Linked DNA regions of Homo sapiens: region 2 is linked to region 1. The links are contacts of gene promoters, found by promoter capture Hi-C in blood cells and fetal thymus (Javierre and others, 2016). All regions are on one chromosome and are shown on one strand. The core of a region is centred on a gene start or on the middle of the fragment in contact, and the rest is flanking DNA. Distances in the headings are between cores, read along the strand shown. Region 1 holds the start of PRKRA (protein activator of interferon induced protein kinase EIF2AK2). Region 2 overlaps PDK1-AS1 (PDK1 and ITGA6 antisense RNA 1).

Evidence for each region. Contacts are between HindIII fragments. The CHiCAGO score rates a contact against its expected background, and 5 or more counts as called.
Region 2: a fragment that was not itself captured here is called in contact with the fragment with the promoter of PRKRA in region 1 in 1 of 17 cell types (neutrophils); the score reaches 6.1 in neutrophils.

The regions. Positions count from the first base shown.
Region 1 is chr2:178,446,436-178,452,776 of GRCh38, forward strand. PRKRA (protein activator of interferon induced protein kinase EIF2AK2) reads right to left here and starts at 4,740. Exons shown (of 8, transcript NM_003690.5): 1 at 4,531-4,740; 2 at 3,807-3,976; 3 at 1,070-1,151. The coding sequence starts at 4,595. It overlaps PJVK (pejvakin), which reads left to right and starts at 4,943. Exons shown (of 7, transcript NM_001042702.5): 1 at 4,943-5,334. RefSeq lists an enhancer at 3,896-4,470 and a silencer at 4,233-5,012. The HindIII fragment of the contact is 1,572 bases long and covers 3,601-5,172 here.
Region 2 is chr2:172,549,792-172,556,293 of GRCh38, forward strand. PDK1-AS1 (PDK1 and ITGA6 antisense RNA 1) reads right to left here. Exons shown (of 4, transcript NR_199657.1): 1 at 6,298-6,502. PDK1 (pyruvate dehydrogenase kinase 1) reads left to right here and starts at 6,299. Exons shown (of 11, transcript NM_002610.5): 1 at 6,299-6,502. The coding sequence starts at 6,360. RefSeq lists enhancers at 1-524, 3,030-3,324, 5,641-5,790 and silencers at 3,030-3,324, 5,971-6,502. The HindIII fragment of the contact is 1,167 bases long and covers 1,535-2,701 here.

The DNA of each region.
Region 1 (6,341 bases), core at 3,490-5,989:
ACCCAAACGGTTTAGAATGATTTACAAAAAGAGAGGAATACTACATGAGAACCTAACTACACCCCTAATCCAAAAGCCTTTCTATGACTAGGGAACAAAAAACCCATCCCAAATTCCCTGGGTCTCTACTGTCAACTATAAGCTGATTACACAGATCGTACTTCAGGCATATGTAAGTGTATGCACAAGAAGAACTTGAAAGCATGCCAAGCTCCAGAGTGCACCCAGTGGACACTACTTTAATATGTGAGATGCTCCAGGACCAATATTCTATCTAGAAACACCTAAAGTAGTAAAAAATCTATCCCAGCACTTTGGGAGGCCGAGGCTGGCGGATCACGAGGTCAGGAGATCGAGACCATCCCGGCTAAAACGGTGAAACCCCGTCTCTACTAAAAATACAAAAAATTAGCTGGGCGTAGTGGCGGGCGCCTGTAGTCCCAGCTACTTGGGAGGCTGAGGCAGGAGAATGGCGTGAACCCGGGAGGCGGAGCTTGCAGTGAGCCGAGATCCCGCCACTGCACTCCAGACTGGGCGACAGAGCGAGACTCCGTCTCAAAAAAAAAAAAAAAAAAAAAAAAATCTTACTTTAGAAAGATATGTCAAGAATTAATATCCCACTTAACATTCTCTTCTTTTGGTATACATTATATAATAAAAGAAAACCTCTGCCTGCTTCTTCAAAATTAGAATTCCCAAAAGAGTACTTTTAGTGGATCTTTCTCCATCTCACACTTTGTTTTCTTCAATGTAGAAATAATCAAAGTCTAAATACAAAATGTTAATATTAATATTTGCAAGAAGCACTGATTTTCTACTGTTGTATCCCATTAAAAAAAAAAAAACAGTAAAGCCTAGTTCATGAGCACCTTCATTTAATAGCTAATTGCTGGATTTGATTGGATAAAGTTTTCTTTAATGGATGATAAGTTTTCATAAGGAAATAGAATTTGAGAGGTAGGATGCTAACAACTGTTCACTTTGTTGCTTTTGTAAGCATGTTCAAATTTTTAATCTTACCTCAGCCATGATATTTTTGAGCTGCTGAATACAAAGAAATTTAGCTCACCAAATACTTGCATTGGCTTTCAAAATGTTTATGGCAGCCTCTGCAGCTCTATGTTTCGCCAGCTTCTTACTTGTACCTTCACCTGAATTAAGATTTAAAAAAAGAAGTCTTTATCTCCCACAAAAATGTGCAGCTTACAAAGATGTTTTCAATACACAAAACAAAGTCACTATAGATTTTACATACACATACTAGGTAATAAAAATATGTACGTTATATACTGTACATAAAAATATGTACATGTTATATACTACATGGTTATATACTGTAATAAAATATTCACCATGTGAAAAAATTTTAAAAAATAACTTTTTAAAGTTCTATATAATTCTATGCATACCTGCATAAAAATCCTTATTTCTACATTATATATGTTTATTATATAACATGGTAATAAAGTAGACCGTGTCACACCTCTGAAGAAATGCAGATTAGTATTTTACTCTTCCTTTATTCCTGGAGGGGAAATTCTTCTGCAGCAAGAAGTTTCTTTTAAAGGAACCATTTACAGCAGAATTGTTTGATAGCAAAATGTGCATAATTTTATTCTGACAGCCTGTCCTATAACGTATCAAACTGCTTTGCTAGGCTGAGCAGTCATGATTATGTGTTGGGTACAACAGGAAAGAGTTTTATGGAATAAGGTGACAGCTTGTTATGTATCTTCTGGACGGTCTGTATCTTCTGCATGGGTAGCTAAGTTGGGACTGGGGATAAGACTGATGTCTAATTTCAGTAAGCAATCACAATGGCAAATGATAAATTCCATCTTTTTCCTTTTAAGTTCAAACTCCCATACCCTCATGGAATAAGTTTCAAGTGTGGCCTTCAAGTGTGGCCCTCAAGTGTAAGAAGACACAGAAACCATATATTTATCTGCTAACACAGGTATTAGGGATATAGCATACAGGGTCCCTGCCCTCAAGAGCCAACAGAGTAGTGTGGGATTTTTGTCTGTTAATAGGCACCTGAAGTATGGAATGGGATATGTTACAACAAGCCTAAGTGCAGGCTGTAGCGGAGGTTGCAGTGAGCCAAGATCATGCCACTGCACTCTAGCCTGGGTGACAGAGTGAGACCCTGTCTCAAAAAAAAAAGAATGAACACTGGTTGTAATGTGACAAAAGGACATCACAAGACTAGAAGGTAAACGTGTAGCTACAAGACTGCAGCTACAATCCAAGTGAGAGATGATGGTGGCCTAGGCAGTAGCAATGGCCAGAAGAGAGAAGCCGACAGATTCAATGGATAGTTAGTGGATTATTAAACGCCAATGGATAGAGTTTAATAACAGACTGGACAAGAGGGAGAAAGACGGGAAGTAGTTAGGAAGACAAAAGCCTACATTTCTACTGAACTAGGTGATTGTGGAGCCTTTACATAGAAAGGGAATGCAAGAAGAATGGGTTTGAGGGAAAAGATGGATTCAGTTTGGGACAATGAGAGGCTTGAGGGGCCTCTGTGTCATCCAGGCAAAGATGCTCAGCAAGCACAGACTGATACACTATTCTGTAACTGGGCTTGGGATGTAGACAGACATTTCAGAATATTAGTCTTTAGACAGTATCAGAAGCCATGGAGGCAGATAAGCTTGCACAGGAAGCCATGGTAGTGTGAGAAGAGGGCGTAGGCAGAACGGTTGCCATAGGTTGTTAATTTGGGGTCTAAAACACATTGAGAGGGAAAAACCCTCCCTTTTCTTGAATTCTTCCTATCTAGAAATAGACTAGCTAAAGTAAGTAATGCAGTGTTGACTCTATGGTTCCCATGGGGACCCTTCCGGCCAGCACCTACAATCTAACTGCCTCACACAAAAAGTTTTAAACTTTTCTTAAAGTGGCATCAATTAAAATAAAAGACTCCAAACTTCCAGGGACACAAACAAATGCTGTCTTCAGATTTTCCAGATGGTAGAACTTGAGCCTTCCTACTAAATTTTTTTCTTGGCATTCTTCCAAATTAAATTTAGCATCCAATGTTTTCTGTGTTTGCAATTAAATAGATACATAAGAAAAATAATGTCCACATTTACAAATGAGCAACTTTAGTTATCATTTGCTCAAGCTCACAGACCAAAAGAAAGCATGAACTTTAAAATTTCATTGCTTTGTGACTTCATTGCTATACGCATGTTACTTATAATCTCTCTGAACCTGTTTCTTCTTGTTTAAAAAGTGGATAATATACAAAATATCTGTTCAGTTTCAAAAACTAGAAGTTATTATGTAATATATGAGGACCTTCTCCCCTTCCTCATTTTGTTTGGATACAGAATCAAAAGTAGCACAATGGACCTAAAGTGCCAAATGAGTCCATACAGAGAGGAGAGACGCTCAGAAAATTCTGGGGTCATGCCTCCTGGCATCCGCTATAATCTATGAAACTTCACAGTACCTACTGACCCAGCTATGACTGCTCCAAGAACCTTTCCTGCTTCCCTCTAATTCTAAGAAGAACCCTAGGAGGATCCTAGGGTATGAGAAGAGCCATGCAGGATCCAGCCATCCGGCTGGGTAACTTTTTAGTTTCTAAGCTTCCTTGGTATGTGGGGAAGAGAAAATTAGGAAGAGAATCAGATGCAGCTGAAAAGCCCTAACGACCTGAGATGAGAGGTCTCAGTTTCAGAGCCTGTTCCTCACAGCTGTCTGGCAAAAAGAGAACTTTTCCGAACTGAAAAGCAACACCAAGTATTGACTGCCAACCCACTCGGTCATCCAGGTTAACTGTGTATACAGACCTGTGCAGGTTATGTCACCAACGGTTACTCTGAAGGTGAAAGTGGGCACGTGTATTTGCACATCAGATCTTTCACATTCATAAACTGGGATGTTCTTGGTCTTCATGCCGTATTCGTGTAATACCTGAATCGGTGTTTTCCCTGGCTTAGCTGTTATCATCTTCCCCAAACTGCAAAAACCACAAAAAGGTGTGCTTTGCATGCCAAATTGGAGATTGAAGCAGAAGCGTAGAGGCCAGTTTTAACCGCCACCGACGGTGACGAGGGAGGCGCCGAGTTCCCCGGAGGCCAGGGCCAGAGCTGGCGAGGCTGGGGCGCACCTGTCTTCCGGCCCCGCTGCGGCAGTCACTCCGCAGGAGCAGGCGGGGTGAGCGAGGTCTTTAGAGAGAGCACTTGAATGCGGGTAGGAGAGATTCTCAACAGAACAGGGCTGGCAGCAGCGCCGCAGCCTCTCAGGGAAAACCTGACGATCCCTTCCCGGGCGCGCCGACCGAGCGTCACCTCCGCCCGCCCCGCGCGCCGCCAGGGACCACGAGAGGGGCGGGGCCCGGCCGCAGACCCCAACCCTCGCCGCCGAGAGGGCGGGGCCGAGCACCCACAGCCGCGGAGGCGTGGGCGCCGGGCACGGCTTTACCCAGAATGCCTCTGGAGGGCCGGCTCCCCGCGCCCCGGCCCTGCCGCCCAACGCTCCCGGCCCTGGGGCCCTGACTGCCCGCACGCTGACCTGAAGGTCCCACTGTCCTCGCGCTCCAGCGGCGGGGCCTCGGCGCGGTGCCTGCTCTGGGACATGGCGAGAAGGGACGGCTCAGCGGCTGGAGGAAGAGCGGTGCGGAGCGACGTGCTCGCTCCCCGGGTCGCTGGTCCCCGGGAGGAGCTCCAGCGCCGCCACCTCCTCCGACTCCCCCGCCTCCTGCTTGCGTTGCTCCAGCGAGGGGGCAGGCAGGGTGGGGGCGGAGCCTTGGTGCCGTAGCTCCGGCTACGCCCCCTCGCTGCTCCTCTGCGGGCCTCCGTCCCGGCCCAACTCCGCCCCTGTCCCTTCCAGGGTCCGCCCCCTTCCCGCCCGGCTCCGCCCCGCTCCCGCGTGGGCACAGGCATTGGGCTCCCGGGGGTTCTCCGCGCCCGCCCCTGCCGGCCCTGACCAGCCTGTAGTAACTGGCCCCTAGGCCGCAGTTCTTTGTCCTTAGCAGGAGGCCGTTTCTTGCCGGGAGAGAGGGATTAGAGGGATTGTCCGGCGTGGGTCTAGGGTCGTTGAGGCCTAAAGTTAAGCCTTTGTGGGGAGGACGGATTGGGGGCTGGGTCACTTTAAGAAAAAGATTCTAAAATTACGAAGGCAGAATTCCAGGGAGTCTCCCGGGCCTGGTCCTGAAGCTTGAGACCCCGGATATATACGCTCCAGGGGGCTGCGGTGCGCTCTTCGGGTCCCCGAGCCCTGTGTTTAGGAACACGCGGGGACGTCCAAACACCCGCTCCTCTCCCGCCGGGCGGGCTCCTTTGTCTTCTGGGCTTTCGTCGCGAGATGGAACGCTGGGTCAGTGCATCCCAGCAAAACACGTTAGGAGTAAACGAAGGCCTTTCCGGGGACCTGGGTAGTCGGTTGTAATGGCGTTTGCCTGGGATGCAGCACCTTTGGTGGGCCATTAGATGACGTGTCGCTTCTCCAGGGGCTTGCTAGGCACTAGCAGAAATGCTCCCCTGTGCTTACTCGGTGTTATGGAAGATTGCTTGCACAATGCTATTCGTACGAAAGGATATTATTAAAAGTGATTTATGGGCGGGCGCGGTGGCTCACGCCTGTAATCCCAGCACTTTAGGAGGCCGAGGCTGGCGGATCGCCTGAAGTAAGCAGTTCGAGACCAGCCTGGCCAACATGGTGAAACCCTGTCTCTACTAAAAATACAAAAATTAGCCGGGCGTGGTGGCATGCGCCTGTAATCCCAGCTACTCGGGAGGCTAAAGCAGGAGAATCGCTTGAACCCGGGAGGCAAATGTTGCAGTGAGCCGAGATCGCGCCACTGCACTCCAGCCTGGGCGACAGAGTCAGACTCCCTCTCAAAAAAAAAAAAAAAAAAAAAAGCGATTTGTTGTTTTGTTAGCATGTAAGCCCTGGATGCTTGAAACAAGTGAAAGATGTTCAGAATCTAATCAAATTATATCATCTGATGCTTTAATTAGAGCCTATTCTCTCTTCCTCTCCGTCTATATATGTATGTATATAGATTACTATCCATCACTGTTTTAATGGATATCTTATTGGAAGGGCTACATAGTCAGTATTTCACAATATATGAACTCCGCATAACACCTATGGCAAAACATTTCAGCACTCAGGTAAAATTCATTTTTTGCCACAAAATTACTTAAAAACAGGCCAGAACTTTATATAGCTCTTGTTAAAGGTTAAGTAGCTGGGATAATAATGAAACAAAAAGATGCAGCAGGACTCCATTTCAAAGAGAGAGAGTCTGTGTGCCCAACTTCAGAGTAAGAAACCACTAGGTAATAGTTTATATAGTTACTTATATGTAATGTGGCTTT
Region 2 (6,502 bases), core at 868-3,367, 5.9 Mb before region 1:
GGGAGGCATGAGACATCAATCAAATACATTTAAGAAATACATTGGTTTAGTCCTGAAAGGTAGGACAATTCAAAGTTGGGGCTTCCAGGCTATAGGTAAATTTAAACATTTTCTGATTTACAATTGGTTGAGTTTATCTAAAGACCTGAGATCACAGAAAGGAAATGTTCAGGTTAAGATAAAGGATTGTGGAGACCAAGGTTCTTTTGAAGTTTTATTGTGGCTGCCCTCAGAGACAACAGATGACAAACGTTTCCTATTCAGATCTTTAAAAGGTGCTAGACTTTAAGTTAATCTTTTTAGGATTGGGAGGGCCTGGAAGTAAAAGATCTAGCTATGTTAATAGAGATTCTTTACTGATGCAAATTTTCCCCCACAAAAGACAGATTTGCAGGGCCATTTCAAGATATGGCAAAAAAACATGTTTTGGGATAAAATATTTTGCTTTTCTTCCTTGTCATGTAATGTTATTCCAGAGTCAGGGTGAAAAGTAAGTCTCGATATATAGGGTTAAATAAAACCCATCTGATGAGAATTTATGGTTTGTAGGGCATGACTCCCCAGAACTCTTAGATAGGAATTTGGGCAAGATAAAAAAATCAGAATTTACTCCTCAGTAGCAACACATGACAGATAGCAGGTCCTGAAATAAACTGAAGTGTTTTACTACAAAACATATTTTTTTGACATATTTTGAACTAGCCCTGCAAAGCTATTTCTTCTGGGGAAAATCTATATTCTGTAGAGGATCCCCTTCCCTTTCCAGGTTTTTCCTTTTAAGGTCTGACACCTTTTTAGGTCTGATAAGAGACATTTACTATCTGTTCTCTCTGAAGCCTGCTATGTGGGACCTTTATCTGTGTAATAAGAATCTTGGTCTCCACAACCCCTTGTCTTAATCCAGACACTCCTTTCAATTGATCCTAGGTCTTGAGATAGTAACTTAACTCTTTCAACCAATTGCCAGTCAGAAAATCTTTGACTCTCCCTATAACCTGGAAGCCCCCTCCTGCCACAAGTTTCCCAATCCCCCTATATTACGTCTTAAAGTTGTCCTGCCTTTTCAGACCAAAGCAGTGTACGCTTTACATGTACTGAGTGATGTCTGCCTGCAACTTCTGTTCCCCTAAAACTGTACACAATCAAGCTATGACCCGACCACCTTGGGCACATGTTTTCAGGACCTCTTGGGACTGTGCCTCAGGCCTTGGTCACTCACATTTGGCTCGGAATAAATCTCTTAAAATATTTTACAGAGTTTGAGTCTTTTTTTTAAATCAACAGTTCAAATAAATTTTTAAAACTTTTAATGTGCCCAAATTTATCTTTTAACATTACCAGTCTCAGTTTGTGAAAGTCTAGAGTTCTCCCTGTCCATGTCTGTAAATTCTTGAGGCTCATAGTCTCATTTATAGTACCCCCCACCCCACCACCACTCAGACTCTTTGTGTGCAAAGTCTATCTCCATTGCCACAAACTCTCATAAAAAAAATTCATCCTTTCCTCCAATTTTCACAAAAGCACAACACATAAAAGCTTCAGTATCCAATAATCTCTCTTTTTTTGCAAACTTTACTGAAGGTTTGGGTTATAAGGAGTGCTCACATTGTGAACAGTCTTTGCAATCTTCTGCCTCCTCCCCTTCCCCTTTGCTCTACAAAGTGAATTCCTCTCCTTGCTTCCTGTAAAGCTGTTCTGAGCCTTCCCTACAGATCTCTCCTTCCACTCCATCAGCATTTCAAAGCACTTACTCCAGATAAAAACTATGTTTGTGCTAAATAAATCCTGGTGAATAGGATGCCCTCATATCACTACACAAGTAATTACCTGAATCAAAGTACCCTTTAAAGAAAGAAGGCAAATGTATATGGAGAAAAATTATGCTTCAGTGGAATATTACGTATTGTTTAGAGCACAACTTTTCAGGGTATCTGATTCCAATTCACTGTCTTTGAGCTATTTTACAACTCTGTAAATTGCAGATAAATGGTAACAACGCACATAATTCTTACCTATACATGTGCAAATAAATTCTGTCAGGTAGAAGGGCAACCCTCCCTGATTCCCAAGGAAAGAGCCAGTTTTACAGCCTTTGCAAATTTTTCTGAATTCCTGTTTTTTCACTTCTCCTTTGAACTGGCTATAATATCTTTACTGGTTCCCTCATTTAATTAATGTATTAAATAAAATTTTTGACACATGTTCATTTTATAGCTGCATGAGAGTCATTATTTTACCTTTTTTGAAAATTATCTTTCCAGCATATCAAAAAGGGTTCTAGGGCAGGAAATGATAGCACACTCAAAAGGGAAATTGATTAATTAATTAATGAAGGGACTATTTACAGGAGTGTGGGCAGAATTAAACCTCCAGGGCTGGTGAGCACCCAATCAGCAACAGAGAAAAATTAGTACTATCTCTATGGATACTGGACAAGGGTAGGAAGCTATGGCCACACTTAGAGGAACACAAATTATAGCTTGGAAGAAAAGAAGCAGGGGGAAAAAATATGACTTTTCTTTCCTTTTGTCTTCTGAACCTCATGAAGCCAGAGGGTACTGGGGACAAGGTGACACAGTCTAGCTTGTTTTGTATTGCTTTTTCCATTCCTTTCAGTCACATCAGTCCAACATGGATCACAAATTCTCAGTGAATTTACAGGGGCTGGCTCATGTCTGCTATGTAAAAATTTTTTTATAGAAGCTTACAGTATGATTACACTTTATATCTACATGTGTGTCTTAGTCTGTTAGTGGTGCTGTAACAAAATACAGTCTGGATAATTTATAAATGACAGAAATTAGTTTTCTTACAGTTCTAGAGGCTGTGAAGTTCAAGATCAAGATGCCGGAACTCAGTGTCTCATAAGGGCTTTCTTGCTGTGTCCTCATGTAACCATCCAATAGGTTTTTCTTGCCTGCTGACCAGATAGAGCCAATTTATCAAGACAAAGAGTTTAGTGCATGTGGAGCTGGCTAAACAGAAGATGAGTTTTATTACTACTCAAATTAACCTCCTGAAAATTCAGAGGCTAGGGTTTTTTTATAGTTTGGCAGACAGCAGGCTATAGAATGGGGAATGCTGATTGGTTGGGTCAGGAATAAAATTATAGGGAGTCGAAGCTGTCATCTTATGCTGAGTCAGTTTCTGGAGGGGGCCACAAGACCAGATGAGTCATTTTACTTATCTGTGTGGTTCCAGCTGGTCCACTGGAATTCAGGATTTGAAAAATAACTCAAACACCAATGTTAGGTTTTATAATAGCAATGTTATCTATAGGAGCAATTGTGGAGGTTGGTGATCTTGTGGACTCTGGCTGCATGACTCCTGAGCTATAATTTCTAATCTTCTAGTTAATTTGTTAGTTTACTTATTTTTTGAGACAAGGTCTCGCTCTGTCACACAGGCAGAAATGCAGTGGCAGGATCTTGGCTCACTGCAAACTACACCTCCTGGGCTCAAGTGATGCTCCCCACGAAGCACTACAGGCAAGTGCCACCATGCCCAGCTAATTTTGTTCATTTTTTGTAGAGACAAGGTCTATGTTGCCCAGGCTGGTCTCGAACTCCTGGACTTACACAATCCTCCCATTTTGGCCTCCCAAAGTGCTGGGATTACAGGCATGAGCCATTGTGCCCTGCCTAATCTGTTAGTTTAACAAAGGTGGTCTGGTCCCCAGGAAAGCTGGGGATTTGTTTCATGGAAGAGCTCTTATCATCTTTGTTTCAAAGTTTGTAATCTAAATTCCTCCCAAAGTTAGTTTGGCCTATGCCCAGGAATAAACAAGGGCAGCTTGGAAGTGAGAAGCAAGATGGAGTTGGTTAGGTCAGATCTCTTTCACTGTCAAAATTTTCTCACTGTTATAATTTTTCAAAGGCAGTTTCACTCACATGGTAGAAGAGATGGTAGGAACTGACTCACCCCCTCACGCCCTTTTATAAGGCTCTGCCCTCATGACTTAATTCTCTCCTAAAGGCTCCACCTCTTAATACTATCACATTGATAATTAAGTTTCAACATAGAAATTTTAGGGGACACATTCAGACCATAACAACAGAGAAGTAATACAGCTGTTTACTAAAGTCCTCAAAGGTTCTCTCCAGTTTCTGGACTCTAAGTCTTTGACTAAGAAGCAAAAGTTGACACCATTTAATATGTACTTTTATATGCACATTCTCTGTATATTGGTTGAAGCATGGTGAATATACTTTGGAGAAAGGAAAAAGCACTTTATACAACAGTTGATTCCTTCCTGAGGGAAAAAAATCTTGCTAAAATAGTCTCAAGGTTTCTGCTGGGCCTTTGTACTTTCACGCAAATTAATGTTCAGCTGAGCATCTTGACATGCTCAGGCAGAAAGCAGCAAAATTGCAAACAGGGATTGAGGGAGCTGAATAATGCTGTGCATGATAAAGTGACAAGACTTTGGAGCTCAGGGAATAATCTAGAAGGAAGGAGATTAGAAAGGAGGAGGCAACCTGAGAGGCTGGGGTAGAGCTGTGGAAATGTTTGAGGGACTATTTTAAGAATGTGTAATATTCAACTTAAAATTGTTTTCTTCTTTCCAACTTAGGTCCCGCAGAAGAAGGGTGGGAAGAAGAAGGGGGCCATTCAGCCATCAATGAGGTGGTGACACCATCAACATTCCCAAGCACATCCCATTGAAACGGACTTCAGGAAGTGTGCCCCTCGGGCACTCAGCAAAGATATCTGGAAATTTGCCAAGAAAGAGATGGGCACTCCAGATGCGCATACTGATACCAGGTTTGACAAAGCTGTCTGGCCAAAAGAATAATGTCCCATACGGTATCCACATGTGGTTGTCCAGAAAAACATAATGCGAATGAAGATTCACTGATATGTGAAAGGAAAATATCACGGGCCACAAAATCACTGAGCTAAAGGGAAAATTCAAGCTGGGAACTGCTCAAGGCAAACCTGCCTCCCATTCTATTCAAAGTCATCCCTCTGCTGAGACAGATGCATATCTGATTGCTTCCTTGGGAAAGGCTTATCAGAAACTCCAAAGACTGCAACCATTTGTCTCTCACCTACTTATAACCTGGAAGCCTTCCTCCCTGCTTCAAGTTGTCCCACCTTTCCGGCAGGAACCAATGTACTTCTTGCATATAGATTGAGGTCTCCTGTCTCCCTGTATAAAACCAAGCTGTTCACCCCTTGGGCACGTGTTCTCAGGACTTCCTGAGGCTGTGTCACGGGCACGCGTCCTCAACCTTGTCAAGATAAACTTTATACATTAACTGAGACTTGTCTCAAACTTTCGGAGTTCACAAAACTATGTACCCGTTACACTTTCTAAAACCAACAGTCAGTGTGGGAGAACTGCTGATACTCGAATACATCAAATAGTTATAAAACCGCCAAAAACCGTTTTCTCTCAAACTTTTGGTAAAATGTGCTTCAGGGAAAACGCAGATTGGTGGTTCTGATAAAATCTTAATAATGAAATAATTTTAAAAAGCAATAATGGTAAAAATAAATCCCATTTATTATCTGGTATGTCCCCGGCATTGTGCTAACACAGATAGCTCTACTACCCATGTCACAGCAACTGAAACAGATAATATGCTCCTTTTTCAGGTAAAGAGACGGAGGCTCAGAGAGGTTAAACAGCTCACTCAAAGGCACAGAGCCAGTACATGGCAGTACATCTCTTCTCCCGGGGCCGCCGTCGCGGTGATACTATTTAGGGCCACACGTCCCAGTGTTCAGCTTTCGTATTTACGTACTACTGTTTGGCAAGCGGGGACTCCTGAAGCTCTCTGACCCTGGAAAATGCGTGGCTTGCGTCACAGAGGAGCGTTTCTGGAACGCGCTCGCAGCACGACACCGCGGTGTGTGCAAGCGGAACGCCGCCCTGTCCTTGAGCCTTTTGGCTGAGATTGGGAGGGCAGAGGAAGCAGGAAGGTGGGATTTGTTTCAAAAGGGTGCGGGAAGGGGACGCTCCATACCGCCTCGCCTCTTAGTGTCCCCAGTCCCATCACCCGACGTGTACGGGGACGGCCGACACGCTCACCCCACACCTCGCCGGCTGGGGCGGGATCTGGGCGGCGGCTGCGGCCTGGCGCGCGCTCCGCATCTCCTTCCTCGGGAGGCTGGGCGGGACTCCGGCGAGGGGGCGGGCCCCGCAAGCGCCCGCCCCTTTTCTCTCCCCGCCTCCTTCCCGCTCCGCGTCCCGCCCAGCGGCGCAGGGGGCCGGGCTCCGGCTAGGAGGGTGGGGGCCGCGCCGGTGACAGCCGATCCCCGCCCCTGCTGCCCGCCACGTCCCTCACGTACCACTCGGCAGAGGCGCGGGGAAACCTGGCGTACTGGCTGTGGCTTCTCTAGCGGGACTCGGCATGAGGCTGGCGCGGCTGCTTCGCGGAGCCGCCTTGGCCGGCCCGGGCCCGGGGCTGCGCGCCGCCGGCTTCAGCCGCAGCTTCAGCTCGGACTCGGGCTCCAGCCCGGCGTCCGAGCGCGGCGTTCCGGGCCAGGTGGACTT